Regions from separate parts of the Homo sapiens genome. Here region 1 is linked to region 2. The links are contacts of gene promoters, found by promoter capture Hi-C in blood cells and fetal thymus (Javierre and others, 2016). All regions are on one chromosome and are shown on one strand. The core of a region is centred on a gene start or on the middle of the fragment in contact, and the rest is flanking DNA. Distances in the headings are between cores, read along the strand shown.

Region 1 (7,150 bases), core at 1,442-3,941, 86 kb after region 2:
TATTTGTTGAGTGAACCATTCTGATTTGGGAAAACACGTTTTCTATCATCCATCTATGTATTATACAGCAAAATGTTTCCTATAATTCTTGCTTTGGGTGGTGATGTCTTCCTCTAAAAATCCTAATTTAACAAAAACAGAGAATGGAAATGATAAAAGAAAGTCTCCTGCATTGGACAGTGACCTTAGGTCTCATCTTTACTCCTGCTTTTATCCTAATTGATGACTTTTCTTTGTAAATGCAGACACACAGAGGCTCGCTGGGCAGCTGGGCCGTGCACCCTGTCCTTGATCATTCTTAGAGGTAGAGATCAAAGGAGACCCATTGGCTGAGAGAGTCTACAACTTGCCACATGATCTATTGCTCTGCCTTGTGATTTTAATTGCCTCTTTAAGAATATCAAATCAGGCCGGACGCAGTGGCTCATGCCTGTAGTCCCAGCGCTTTGGGAGGCCGAGGCGGGTGGATCACCTGAGGTCAGGAGTTCAAGACCAGCCTGGCCAACACGGTGAAACCCCGTCTCCACTAAAAATACAAAAATTAGCCGAGCATGGTGGCATGCGCCTGTAATCCCAGCTACTTTTGGGAGGCTGAGGCAGGAGAATCACTTGAACCCGGGGGTCAGAGGTTGCAATGAGCCGAGATCGCGTCATTGCACCCCAGCCTGGGTGACAAGAGCGAGACTCCATCTCAAAAAAAAAAAAAATCAAATCAGATGTGTTAGCGTCTTCATGAATGTCATAAAAAGAAATGTTTCAGTGCCAAAACTGAACAGCAGTACAGTGACCTTTGAAAATGTTGTTTAGGGTATTAAATGTGTAACTAGTGACATTTTGTGTGTTTTTCTTTTTCTTCCTATCCAGCTCAGTGGAATAGCTGTTGCTTGTCCCAGTGTTAGAATTTGGACTGATAGAAAGGAGAGGAGCTGGAGATTCATTCTGCTCTGCAAGGGCAGACTCGATTTCAGAAGTGGCACCAGATGATAGCCTTGTGTTGTCCCCAACCACTGGTGCTGAGAAATGATGCAGAACCAAGCCCTCAGATCCCAGATCACCCACGGCTCCTGGGACATCTCTGGGGAAGGGACTTATTAATGTAGACCCTGATGCAACATCCCAAGTCGTCTTTATCCATGATTTGCACAGCCAGGACACTCTGGGGCTGGGATTGGGAGGAGAGGAATGGCCAAGTTGCCCTGCCCCCTTGGCTCTGTGGACTCCAGAAGGATGGTCAGTACCAGCAGCATTTCACACACACCAGCCTCATTATTAAAATTGGAGCAATTTGTGAAATAGAGTTGAGACTTCTCTAGAGAAAAAAGGTTGGGAAGCAGCTCAGTGGCTGGGTCTGGGAGTCAGCTTCCAGGCAATATCTCACTGAGTCAGGACAAGGCCCATCATTCCCTGTTCCCGCCAGGCCGGGTATTTGCCAGGATGTGAAACGGAAGCCAGGCTTTTGGAGAGGCTGAAGCTGATTTTTGTAACAAGGTCTGGTTACCAGCAAGGAAGCGGTTTTCACGTTGCTCACTCTGGGCCCGAGTGTGGTGCATCGCGCCCCCTGGTGCCCAAAAAGTGCAACTACGTGCCATGCCAGCCAGCTCTCCTGGACTTCCATTTTTCCCTGATTCTCCTGTTCCTCGCCCACCCTTCTCTTTGCTGTGCCCACTGTGGTCTACGCCGAGGCTCCCCTCCCTCCTCCCTGCCCCAAGCAATAATGAACAAGATCTTCATTCTCTGAAGAGAAGTGCAATAGTAAAACTTTCCTTTTTGTTTGTGTAGGGGAAGAGCTGGTGTTAATGGGTCAGGCAGGCAAGGCATGAAGTGATAAATAGGGAAAGGATGAAAGAAGGGAACAAACCCAGGGGACCTAACGGACCCACCCTAACAAAAAATTGGAGTACAAAAAAAGTGTATTAAAATTGTGAGACCACACCAACTCATTCGTCACTCGTGTCTTTACAAAGAACAAACCTGAAGCTTCAATGAGAAAGAATTGAAGTATTCTAGGGCTGCCTGAAATCTTCTGAACTTTTAACATAGGCTTTGATTTCCGAGTTGTGTGCTTGCATGTTAGAGATATGATAGTGTCTAAAAATTGGAACATGGCATAGTTTGATCTAAAAAGTTAGCTAACTTCTGCCATTTAGAAAAAGACCCCATGCTCAAGTCTGCTTTTGAAAAGTTGCCTTGGTCAAGTGTTGAAGACAGCACTTGTTAGAAGGAACAAGTTCACTTCTGAGAGCCCTTCTCAAAGAGTTTAGGAAACAGCACTACTGAGAGTTGCCAGTCTTCAGAGCAGTGCAACGTGTGTGTATGCGTAAGACACAGATGGTGAAAATATCAAATGCTACAGATGCCAAGAAGGGAGGTGTTGGCACCACACCAACCTTTAAACAAACATAAGGATGCAGAATGCAGTCTTTAAAATGGAGGGAGAATTTACTGTCTGTGTGGCTATTTCCTTGAAATGACTTAAAAAGCTGAGATACAGAAGTATTAGTAAATCGGTGCCAGGAATGAAGTAACCGTTTAGATCCAATGCGCCGGCTCCAGCATCGAACTCATGCCCAGCACCCTTTAAACCCTCCCGGGACTCTGCAGAACCCGCTGACCACTCACAGAGCCCAGCTCGGGGGAGGGCTTTAAGGTGAAGCACGTGACCCCCTGCTTGTGCGGCCCGGGCGGGGAAGTTTGCGCTCCCGAAGTCCTGGAGCTCAGCAAGGGAGGGGCCAGCGCCAGCCCGCGTGTGGGTGGCTGGGTGGGGGCGTGGGTGGGGGTCCGCCTATAATTATCTGGGGAAATGCATCCGCGCTCTGCTTTTCGCTGCGGCAGCTCCGAGGGCACCTCCGGTTCTCCCCCATCCTCCGGGAGTGTCTGGGCGCTCAGTCCGCTCTGATCCCGCCGAAACCACCTGCGGTTGGCAGGCAGGAGACTAGGCGTCTGCCGGGGAGGGCAGGGACCCGCTAAGCTGATCTCCTGTACAGTAGTGCTACTTAAAATATGCTGGGGACCATCACCATCACAGGTAAGGCACAAGCCAGGTCGCTTTTGTCCTCCCTGGACGGCAGGCACGGGGCACGAAAAGGGGCTTTCTTCCGTTGAATGAGCGTTTGGTGGGGAGCCCGGGAGGTCAGTGGCGGGACCGTTATTGGCATTTATTTCTCTCCGTGTACTGAGTTTTTCTTCAGAAGAACATTCTCCCTTGGGCTCAGCAAGAATCAGACAACCTCAGTGTTTCATTTTTGGCTGAGCTGGAATCTTCTTGACTGTGCCTATGGGAGACCTTTAGTATATTTTGTTCGGGGTTGTACCCTTCCCCTTAGGGAGAGAGGGATGTGGAGAGGAACAACAGCAGCCGACTGAATAGAAATATGTCAGATTTGTGTGAATTTGAAAATAAGCTGTGAAAGCTTAATCTCTTGCCGTAGTCATAGACAGAATACATTCCTCTTCTGGGCAAATTACAAGTGTTTGCATTTTGACTTGTTTACTAGGAACTTTGAATAAAGGTACACTTGGTGGTTTAGGGGACTAACATTTAAGCTCTGCTTTAAGTGGTGGTTTTAATAAAGCCATAGTTATTATAAAATCGGTGGCTAGGAAGCAACACTATTTAGGCAACAAATAGTAAAAAAAAAAAAAAAAAGAAAAAAAGAAAAAAGTATGTTTCTTTAGCTTACTTTCTAGGAATCTGGCCGTGAGTATGAATTATAATATTTACTGCCTACTTCTAGCAAATAACTTACACGCATCAAACTTTTAGAATGCTCTTACAGCTCCTCTAACTTGACATTTGATAGTCTTATGCCATTGTACTGTGGCCTAACCTGCGTATTTTCTCTTCCTGTCATCAAGAAAATTAAATTCCGTTTGTGAATTTAACTTTATAGGAACAGGACTTCTTTATTCTTTAAATATTTGAGATCATTGCTGCCAAATCTTTTTTTTTGTTTGTTTGTTTTTTGTTTGTTTTTTGAGATGGAGTCTTGCTCTTTCGCCAGACTGAAGTGCAATGGTGTGATCTTGGCTTACTGCAACCTCCACCTCCTGGGTTCAAGCGATTCTCCTGCCTCAGCCTCCCGAGTAGCTGGGGTTACAGGCACGTGCCACCACGCCCAGATAATTTTTGTATTTTTAGTAGAGCCGGGGTTTCACCAAGTTGGCCAGGATGGTCTCGATCTCTTGACCTTGTGATCTGCCCGCCTTGGTCTCCCAAAGTGCTAGGATTATAGACGTGAGCCACCGCACCTGGCCTACATTTTTTTTTTTTTTTTAATCAACTGTAGAATTTCTAGGACTTAAAATTTTCTCAATGCAACTGCTCCTGCAAAGCCATGCGCTCCAGTGGAATTTACAAGAATGTGAAAGTTCAGCAATACTAAAATTATCTCTCACTTCCTATAGATTAGCTTGTTTACTTTGAGATTTCCTTAAAATTCGACCCCCAAGTTGACTTGGCTAACCTTTCTACCATTTACTCAGCTTGAAAGTTTATGCCATATCTCGAAACTATTAATAAATAGACTGTACAAAATGAAAAAAATTTAAAACACAAAAATCTCCATTTTTTCCCCCAGATCATTAACTTTTCTATGAATGAAATATGCAAATGTGTATTGTAGGGAGTCACAGCTGGGGTGGTGCTTCTGAGATCATGACTTTTTTCTGAGTACTTTTTGGGTACAATATGATTTTTATTATATTCACTATTCAATTAGTCGCATACTGAGATTCCTATGGTAAAAGGAGGTGGTCTAAAGTTTTAGCAGTAATTAAAGGTTAATAAACTGGGAGCACTTGAGGGGGCTTGTAATAGTTGGCTCAGATAATCCCAATGGAGTGATAAATGAATGGAAATAGTGGGAAGGACTAACTTTTAAGGCAAAATCAGGTAATTGGCTCTATTGCTTTCTAAATTTACTTTTCTTACAATGTGGGTGTGGAGGATATGGCAAAATTTTGCACTTTTTCCTGGTAAGAAGAAAGTGCACAGAAAATCTTAACTCCAAAAATTTACCAGCAAGAAATCTTACGTAGTGGAAAAAGTAAAAATGAAAGGGAGTTTCAGCTGTCATTTGGTTTTTGCTCCGCAAGTTATTCTGATGGGGAAGATTCATAATCATCATCTTTAAATAGTTGCTCAGAATCTTGAAAAGCCATGAGAGCTTTAAAAATTGACAGTAACAACCGGGCGCGGTGGCTCACGCCTGTAATCCCAGGACTTTGGGAGGCCGAGGTGGGCGGATCACGAGGTCAGGAGATCGAGACCATCCTGGCTAACACGGTGAAACCCCGTCTCTAGTAAAAATACAAAAAAATTAGCCGGGTGTGGTGGCGGGTGCCTGTAGTCCCAGCTACTTGGGAGGCTGAGGCAGGAGAATGGCGTGAACTCGGGAGGCAGAGCTTGCAGTGAGCCGAGATCGCGCCTCTGCACTCCAGCCTGGGCGACAGAGCGAGACTCCATCTCAAAAAAAAAAAAAAAATTGACAGTAAGGTGGCCGGGCGCGGCGGCTCACGCCTGTGATTCCAGCACTTTGGGAGGCGGAGGCGGGCGGATCACGAGGTCAGGAGTACAAGACTAGCCTGACCAACATGGTGAAACCCCGTCTCTACTAAAAATACAAAAATTAGCTGGACGTGGTAGTGTGCACCTGTGATCCCAGCTACTCGGGAGGCTGAGGCAGGAGAATTGCTTGAACCTGGGAGGCAGAGGTTGCAGTGAGTCAAGATTGTGCCACTGCACTCCAGCCTGGGTGACAGAGCAAGACTCCGTCTCAAAAAAAAAAAAAAAAATTAAATTGACAGTAAGGTTTAATGAAATCTTAAAGGTCTTTGCATCTTTGGGATTATTCACTTAAATACTATAGAAGGTTATTGTAGTTATCTTTAGTACTATGTTATTTTAGGAGGCCTGTGTTTAAATTTTACAATTCATTAACAGGACTGATGGCATTTTGTAGGAACTACTTAGGAACAAGTTTGCATTTCTGAAAGTAAGGAAAAGCTGTCACTTAATACTATTATCCCCCTCCCCCCTGCCACACACACAACCCAGTTTACACAAACCACTAAAATGAATGCAGTGGAAATTGAATTATGAAATGATTGCTTATTCACATTACATACTGTTGCCATTCTTGGGGTCTCTTTCTCTCACATCTCATTTGCAATAAGTTAGCTTTGAGACAAGAAATAAGTGATGTGACACGATGATCATCCCCTTCCCCACTCAACTGTAAATGGCGTGCCAGCATAAAAATGCCTTTTTTTTTGAGATGAAGTCTCACTCTGTCACCCAGGCTGGAGTGCAGTGGCGCGATCTCAGCTCACTGCAACCTCCACCTCCCGGGTTCAAGCAGTTCTCCCTGCCTCAGCCTCCCAAGCAGCTGGGATTACAGGCACCTGCCACCACGCCCCGCTAATGTTTGTATTTTTAGTAGAGACGAGGTTTCGCCATGTTGGCCAGGCTGGTCTTGAACTCCTGACCTCAGGTGATCCACCCGCCTCAGCCTCCCAAAGTGGTGTGAGCCACCACGCCCGGCCAAAAAAATGCTTTTTGAATTAAGCAAGTATCTTTTCGCTTTTCTCTAACACCCACATTACTGAAACTGATAATATTGATACATTGCAAACTGTGAAGTATCATGAGAAACAGGGACATTATTCTTTAAAGTAGAAACTGGGGAAGAATCAATCCTCCAACGTTCATGTTAGTTCTAGATTATTTATAATGCACTTTCCGATGCAAATAATTTTTACAAGAGAAAAAAATACCTTGCACATGGGTGTTTCACATCTGCTATGGAGACAGATTCCTTGTCAAGAGACTTTGGAGACACGAAATTGATACTTTCACAACTGCTGGATTAATAACTACCACTTCCTGAGTGCCTAGTCTGGCAGGTGTTGTTCAGCACTTTGTGGACATTATCATGTATTCCTCACAATAATCCTGCAAAAAGTGGTTCTGTAACCCCATTTCTATCATAAAAGTAAGTTTCTCATGATTTGATAATTACCCAAGGTTTCACAGCTAGAAAGAGCATAACTGTAGAGTACCTTGCAAAAGACCTCTTTCTCGTTGTGAAGATGCTAATACTTGTTTAGTGACCCACATTCTTACATGCCTGCCCAGATGTTTAAGGGATCG
Region 2 (6,913 bases), core at 4,389-6,888:
CATGCTTTTTGTATCAAGTCTAAGAACTATCCTGCTTAGCCTTAGCTTCCTAAGATTTTCTCCTGTCTTTTCATTTTTTTTGTTTTGAGACGGAGTCTCGCTCTGTCTCCCAGGCTGGAGTGCAGTGGGGAGATCTTGGCTCACTGCAAGCTCCGCCTCCCGGGTTCACGCCATTCTCCTGCCTCAGCCTCCTGAGTAGCTGGGACTACAGGCTTCCGCCACCATGCCCGGCTAATTTTTTGTATTTTTAGTAGAGACTGGGTTTCACCTTGTTAGCCAGGATGGTCTCGATCTCCTGACCTTGTGATCCGCCCACCTCAGCCTCCCAAAGTGCTGGGATTACAGGCGTGAGCCACCGCGCCTGGCCTTCTCCTGTCTTTTCTAAAAGTTTTACAGTTTTGTGTTTTACGTGTAAGTCTGTGATCCATTTGTAGTTAATTATTTTATCAGATGTGTGACATAAGTCAAGGTTAACTTTTTGCCCATGAATGTCCAATTGCTTCAGCACCATTTGTTGAAAGGCTGTCATCCACCATTGAATTACTTTTGCACCTTTGTCTTTTTAAAAAATACATTTATTTATTTATTTATTTATTTATTTACTAGTGACATCTCCATGTGAATACTTTTGAGCCTTTGTCAAAAATCATTTGGGCATGTTTATATAGGTTTATTGCTATTGTTATGATTTTAAAAGCATTTAGCAAGCTAACTTAAAGGAATACAAAATAAACATTAGATCAGGTTATCCACCTTTCCTTTGTGTATTGCTAGTTGAGATGTTTATCAATTCACAACCTAATCTTTTTTTCTTTTTTATTTTTTTTGAGACAGAGTCTTACTCTTTCGCCCAGGCTGGAGTGCAGTGGCGCGATCTTGGCTCACTGCAACCTCCATCTCCCAGGTTCAAGCAATTCTCCTGCCTCAGCCTCCCAAGTAGCTGGGATTACAGGCGCACACCACCACGCTTGGCTAATTTTTGTATCTTTTTAAAGTAGAGACGGGGTTTCACCATGTTGGCCAGGCTGGTCTCAAACTCCTGACCTCAGGTGATCCACCCGCCTCCGCCTCCCAAAGTGCTGGGATTATAGATGTGAGCCACCGCACCAGGCCACAAAGGGATTTAAGTTGGTAGAGGAACATAAAATCTACAGTTCACATCGTATAATATATTGTATAATAGCTTTGTTTTGAGTGCGCAATGTTGACTTATTGAAGCAAAGTTTCCAACTTTGAAAAGTCCTCTGCATTTTGCCTGGCACTCAACTCAGTGAAAGTTTATTTAATTAATATGTGAAAAATATATATTTTAATGTTGGATACTTATAGGGTCCTTTGTAGAAGGGATTTGAAATTGTGAGGATTACAGCCACTTGATCTACCCTGGAATGTAGACACCTTCCACATACCTTCTGGTATCTTCTAACAGTGCATCCTGAGAAATTCTTTCTCCATATTGGACACATCATTTACTCTATCTTGGTTCCAGTCCCTCCTTTGTTACTTGAGAGTAATCCTGAATTTGAGTCAGGCACCAATCTTAAACCTTGGTAAATGAAACTGAGATCCAAATAGCTGGCTTTATACTTAACTCCAAAGCAATAAATTCCTTAAGAGTTACAAGGATAGCATTTGCCTATATATATATACGTGATGTATGTCTACAAGCGGCTGAGCTTTAAACTTCATCTGTAAATTGAACATTTTCTGTAGCTTCCATATGAATTTTAGATTATTAAGTACTCATGAATTGAATACAACTGTTAATTCTTCTAGTTTATAATTAGCAAATTATAATTAATGCTCTAAAATAATCCGTCTCAAATCCTCACATAGAAAGTAAAATTCAAATAATTTACTCACAGTTTCTTCCATAGACTTCTCAACAGGGTAATAACATTATTCTTGGTTATTTATTTTCCAGGCCATGTAAATGTTAATATTCTTATTTGTAAAAAGTAAAATCATATCTTAAGAGATGCATGCGCACATTCTAGTACTCTCTATTCTGCCTGAAACAGCTCTGTGATAAGGGAGTATTAAGAATAACAAATTCACACGAGCACAAGATAGAGTGGGAATTAGGTTCTTAGATGACTGGATATCTCTGTGGGAACAACTGGTTTAGAAAGAAGTAGGTGTTTTATCCAGGGAAAACAAAGAAGTTATAATCAAGAGAGAAGCAGTTTCAAAGGTGAAGGTGAAGAGTTGCCAGTCTCAGCGAAGGCTTTGTAACTAGAGAATGAATCTTTAGGGTAGAGTTAACGGTAGATTTTAAACTGTTTTAATAATTAAAATTATTATTGCACTTTGAAGGGGGTGTCTGAACTCAGTTGTAAAATGTTTGACATTTGTGAATTCCTTTAATGTTATATTTGAAACTGTTTTGGTGCATGCACAAGGTGCCCAACTATGACTCTACATTTTATTGTTAAACCTCATGTGACCCGTCTTTCTGGAGAAGTATGTGTGCGAAGTACAGGTTCAGCCTGCTACACAGGCAACATGTATTTGTTTTTGAGAAATCTCAAACTGTGTTTATGAGAGAATTAACCCTCTCAGGGAAACAGCTCTACCAACGACTGCCCCATGGGAGAGGATGTGTGGGGACACCTGCATCCTGCTATTTGGAGAAAAATTGAGCTGCTGGTGAGACATTGAACCAACAGCCTTGGACTGAGAAGTGAAAAATAGAGAACACCTGCCTCCCCTCTACTCTGATGCCAATCCAAGCAATTCCGAAGGCATCTTGGAAGCCCTAGAAAAGAAAACCTCAGTGACTCGATTTAGAACCTTGGAAACTAGAGTGGTAACTTTGTGCTTGGCACATAATAGGTACTTGATAGAAATTTATTGAAAGAAAGAAAGAGAAGAAGGAAAGAAAGAAAAAGAAAGAAAGAACAGAGAAGAAGGAAAGAAAGAAAAAGAAAGAAAGAAAGAAAAGTAAAAAAAGTAACAAACTTTGTAGCATTCTGAAGCACTAAGTGGCATACCCAAAAGGTTGGGCTATTTCATCGCTAGAGGTCATTAATAACACAACCACTTTTCTTTTCTTCTCTTTTTTTTTTTTGAGACAGGGTCTCACTATGTCATCCAGGCTGCAGTCTGGAACTCCTGGGCTCAAGTGATCCTCCCGCCTCAGCCTCCCAAGTAGCTAGGACTACAGGCATGCACCACCACTCCTGGCTAAATTTTTTTTTATTTTTTGTAGAGATGGGAGTTTCACTGTGTTGCCCAGGCTGGTCTTGAACCCCTGGTGTCAAGCAATCCTTCCACTTCAACCTCCCAAAGTGCTGGGATTACAGGCGTGAGCCACCGCGCCCAGCGCAATGATTTTACTTTTTACAAATAAGAGTATGAACATTTACATGGCCTGGAAAATAAACAAAAAGCAAGTAACTGCTAATCTAAGCAGATGCTGATATCTTCCTCAGCACGTAGGTTGTACACTGTTGGCTTGACCCTGCAATCCTTTCTGAAAATTTAAAGGGTAGTAGATGTGAAAAGCTTTGCTAAGAATTTCCCAGGAACAAAGTAAATATAATCTCACAGAATGTGAAAATGTTGATAGTATTTGTGCTACTTACTGATACATTTTCAAATGTGCTGACGTTAATCATTCTCAAATAGTTTTTTTTTTCTTCTTCTTTTTTTTTTTTTGGGACGGAGTCTTAATCTGTCATCCAGGCTGGCGTGCAATGGCATGATCTCAGCTCACTGCAACCTCCACCTCCCAGGTTCAAGCAGTTCTCGTGTCTTGGCCTCCTGAGTAGCTGGGATTACAGACACGCGCCACCATGCCTGGCTAATTTTTGTACTTTTAGTAGAGACGGGGTTTCACCATGTTGCCCAGGCTGGTCTTGAACTACTGTCCTCAGGTGATCCACCCACCTCGGCCTCCCAAAGTGCTGGGATTACAGGTGTAAGCCACCACACCTGGCCTCAAGTAGGTTTTAACAGTGCTTTTTGCTCTTAAAATCCTAAGTGAGGTCCAAATGCCACGTTTCAGTAACACCTCTGAGAGGAGAGAACACAGTTGATTGAAAGGGAAGGGGAGTGCCATGCGGTGGTGAAGCGTGGACCCTGAAAGCAGATGCCAGTTGGACTTCCTGCTCTTCCAACTCCTGGCTGTGAAACCTGAAGCACACAATTTAATTTCTCCGGGCCTACTCCTCCCCCTCCTGCCAATGGTAAAATGAGAATAATACTATCTATCCCATGGGGTTATTGTAAAGATTATTATGTAAAGTGCATTGAACAGTGCCTGGTACAGAGTAAGAATTCTAATGTTTCCTAAATAGTCAAAATTTAAGTCAAAATGGGGGAAATGTGTATAAATTCCTAAAACTAAGCATTTTGCAAATATACTGTTTCTTAAGAGATAAACTCCAGAGAAATTGGCCTTCGTGTAGTCCTTTAAATAAAAATAATTAATTCAGAAAACAGGCCCAGTGTGGTGGTTCACACCTATAATCCCAGCACTTTGAGAGGCCAAGGCAGGAGGATCGCTTGAGCTCAGGAGTTCAACACTAGCCTGGGCAACACAGCGAGACCTTGTCTCAAAAAAAGAAAAAGAAAAAAAATTAATTCAGAAAACAAATTTGATGGTGAGTAACTAACCTATGGTTCCCAGGGTACCATTCGATTCATGCAATTCATTAGGCATGAAACATCCTAGTGCTGAACTACTGCTTACACCCTTTCTACAAAATTGTACTAAATCTGAGTATGAGATATTTATCTGGAATTTGGTGTGAATATTCCGAAAGTTTCTTCCTTCTTTCTTTCTTTTTTTTTTTTGACAGAATCTTGCTCTGTCGACTAGGATGGAGTGCAGAGGCACAGTCATAGCTCACTGCAGCCTCGAATTCCTGGGCTGAAGTCATCCTTCTACCCCAGCGTCCCCAGCCTCCTGAGTAGCTAGGACTACAGGTGCACCACTGCGCCTGGCTAATTTTTTTATTTTTTGTAGAGACAAGGTCTCGCTATGTTAACCAGGCTGGTTTCTTCATTCTTAATGGAGATTCAAAGTATTTGTGAAAACTGGGGCACTCGGTTGCTAGTTACAACTGGAATAAATTTTGTCTTTCAGCCCCAAAGCCTTAATGCTTTGCGCCAAGCAATCCAGCTACAAATTTAATTTAGTTCAAATACTTATTGATTGGCTGCCATGCTCATGTAATACATATTATATTCAAGGGTCGGAAATGAAAGGATGCAAGCCACTTGTGCTGGTATTATTTAAAGTCTTCATCTTTTGAGAAAGGCTGACGGCAAAGGAACAGATCTATGCTGTCATGTGTCGGCATCGCGCGGAGCAGAGGTGGCCTGGATGGGTAACTTCCAGCACAGGCCCTCAAAGAAGGACGGGCACATTTCCGGTAACAGCCTCATTTCCCCCCGTTCCCCGGGGGAAGGGGGGCGGCTAGCACTGCTGATGGCATCGCCTGACATCACTTGTTCCGGAGGATAGGAGAGCGTGGGCCTGCGTGGCCCACCTCATCCGTGGCCTGACTGCGTTAACCTCTCGGTTCCCTGCTCTTGCCACGTGAGGTGCCCAAATATGGTCGGACTCAGGAGGAGCCAGGGAGCGCTTGCCTTTCTCCTGCTAATGGGGAGGAGGCTGGAACAAATGTTTGGAGTTAAACACAATCTGCAGGAAAGCAAATGGGGACTCGGACTCGCTCCTGGGCGAGCTGAAAGTCGGCTGCAGCAGAAGCTCCTGCCTTGGGTGATCCATCATTTAATAAACCCCAGAGAATCCAGTGTCCCCGGCAGGCTTTTTGCTCCCCTGCTCTCTTGCCTTCTGAGGCCCTGGGTCGTCCCCGCAGCTCTAGTCGCCCTGTTAGAAACGGGAGGCGCCCGAGGGCCGGGTGGGCGGCTGCCTGGACCTGGGCTGGCGCGTCGCAGCGCCTCTGGTCCCGGCAGCCTGGGGGCAGATGCTGCTGCAGGGCGTGTCTGGGGCTGTGCTCATGTGATGAAGCGAGGGAAAAACCGGGGGGAGGGGGGCGGAGGCTAAGAGGTGGCCTTTTTTTTTTTTTCCTTTTCTTTTAAGGAGTTTGCCGCGAGCGCGTCTCCTTCATTCGCAGGCTGGGCGCGTTCGCAGTCGGCTGGCGGCGAAGGAAGGCGCTCTCGGGACCTCGCGGGCGCGCGTCTTTTGGCTCTTGCCCCTGTCCCTGCGGCTTGGGGAAGGCGTAACCCGGCGGCTAGGCGCGGGAGAAGTGCGGAGGAGCCATGGGCGCCGGGAGCTCCACCGAGCAGCGCAGCCCGGAGCAGCCGCCCGAGGGGAGCTCCACGCCGGCTGAGCCCGAGCCCAGCGGCGGCGGCCCCTCGGCCGAGGCGGCGCCAGACACCACCGCGGACCCCGCCATCGCTGCCTCGGACCCCGCCACCAAGGTACGGGCGTGCCGGGCCACCTGCGCCGGGAGGCGCGGGTCTTTGGGGGTGGGGGTGGGGGTGGGGGGGTCCCTCCGATTTCCGCCGAGAGAACTTCCCAGCCCATCCAGCCGCATCTGCAAACTCAGGAGTGCGAACCCCTCTTTGGAGGCTTTTCAGGGTCTTTCGCGCCGGGGCGGGGCCAGAGCAGCGGCGAGCGCGGCGGGGGGCTTGCATCTTTGTCGCGGGTCTCCAGGGGAGGCGACTGCGCCATGCGCAATAATAAAACCCGCGCCCTGCCCACGGCGGCTGAGCCTTTCTGCGCACTCTTCCGGTGGGAGCCATGCAGCCCGAGGCGGAGGAGCTGCGCGGAGGGGGATCCGTGGAGAATGGACCCCGGGCCGGGCCTCCGGAGCTCCGAGATGCGGAAAGTCAGCTGTGAGGCCAGGACTCGTGGTGGAGCCCGCCGGGGAGCCCAGCCACCCTCGGGTTCCCCGTCGCGTACCGCCCTGGATGCCAGCGGTGCCTGGAGCGAGCG

The links. Contacts are between HindIII fragments. The CHiCAGO score rates a contact against its expected background, and 5 or more counts as called.
Region 1: a contact is called between a fragment that was not itself captured here and the fragment with the promoter of AKAP12 in region 2, in 1 of 17 cell types (endothelial precursors). The highest score is 7.4, in endothelial precursors.

Annotation. Positions count from the first base shown.
Region 1 is chr6:151,322,861-151,330,010 of GRCh38, forward strand. The region is part of intron 3 of AKAP12 (A-kinase anchoring protein 12); the gene reads left to right. Among named protein-coding and RNA genes, the nearest start is that of ZBTB2, 65 kb to the right of the region's middle. RefSeq lists a silencer at 1,459-1,659. The HindIII fragment of the contact is 1,433 bases long and covers 1,976-3,408 here.
Region 2 is chr6:151,234,329-151,241,241 of GRCh38, forward strand. AKAP12 (A-kinase anchoring protein 12) reads left to right here and starts at 5,639. Exons shown (of 5, transcript NM_005100.4): 1 at 5,639-5,731; 2 at 6,056-6,396. The coding sequence starts at 6,235. RefSeq lists enhancers at 5,442-5,951, 6,029-6,606. The HindIII fragment of the contact is 4,204 bases long and covers 3,506-6,913 here.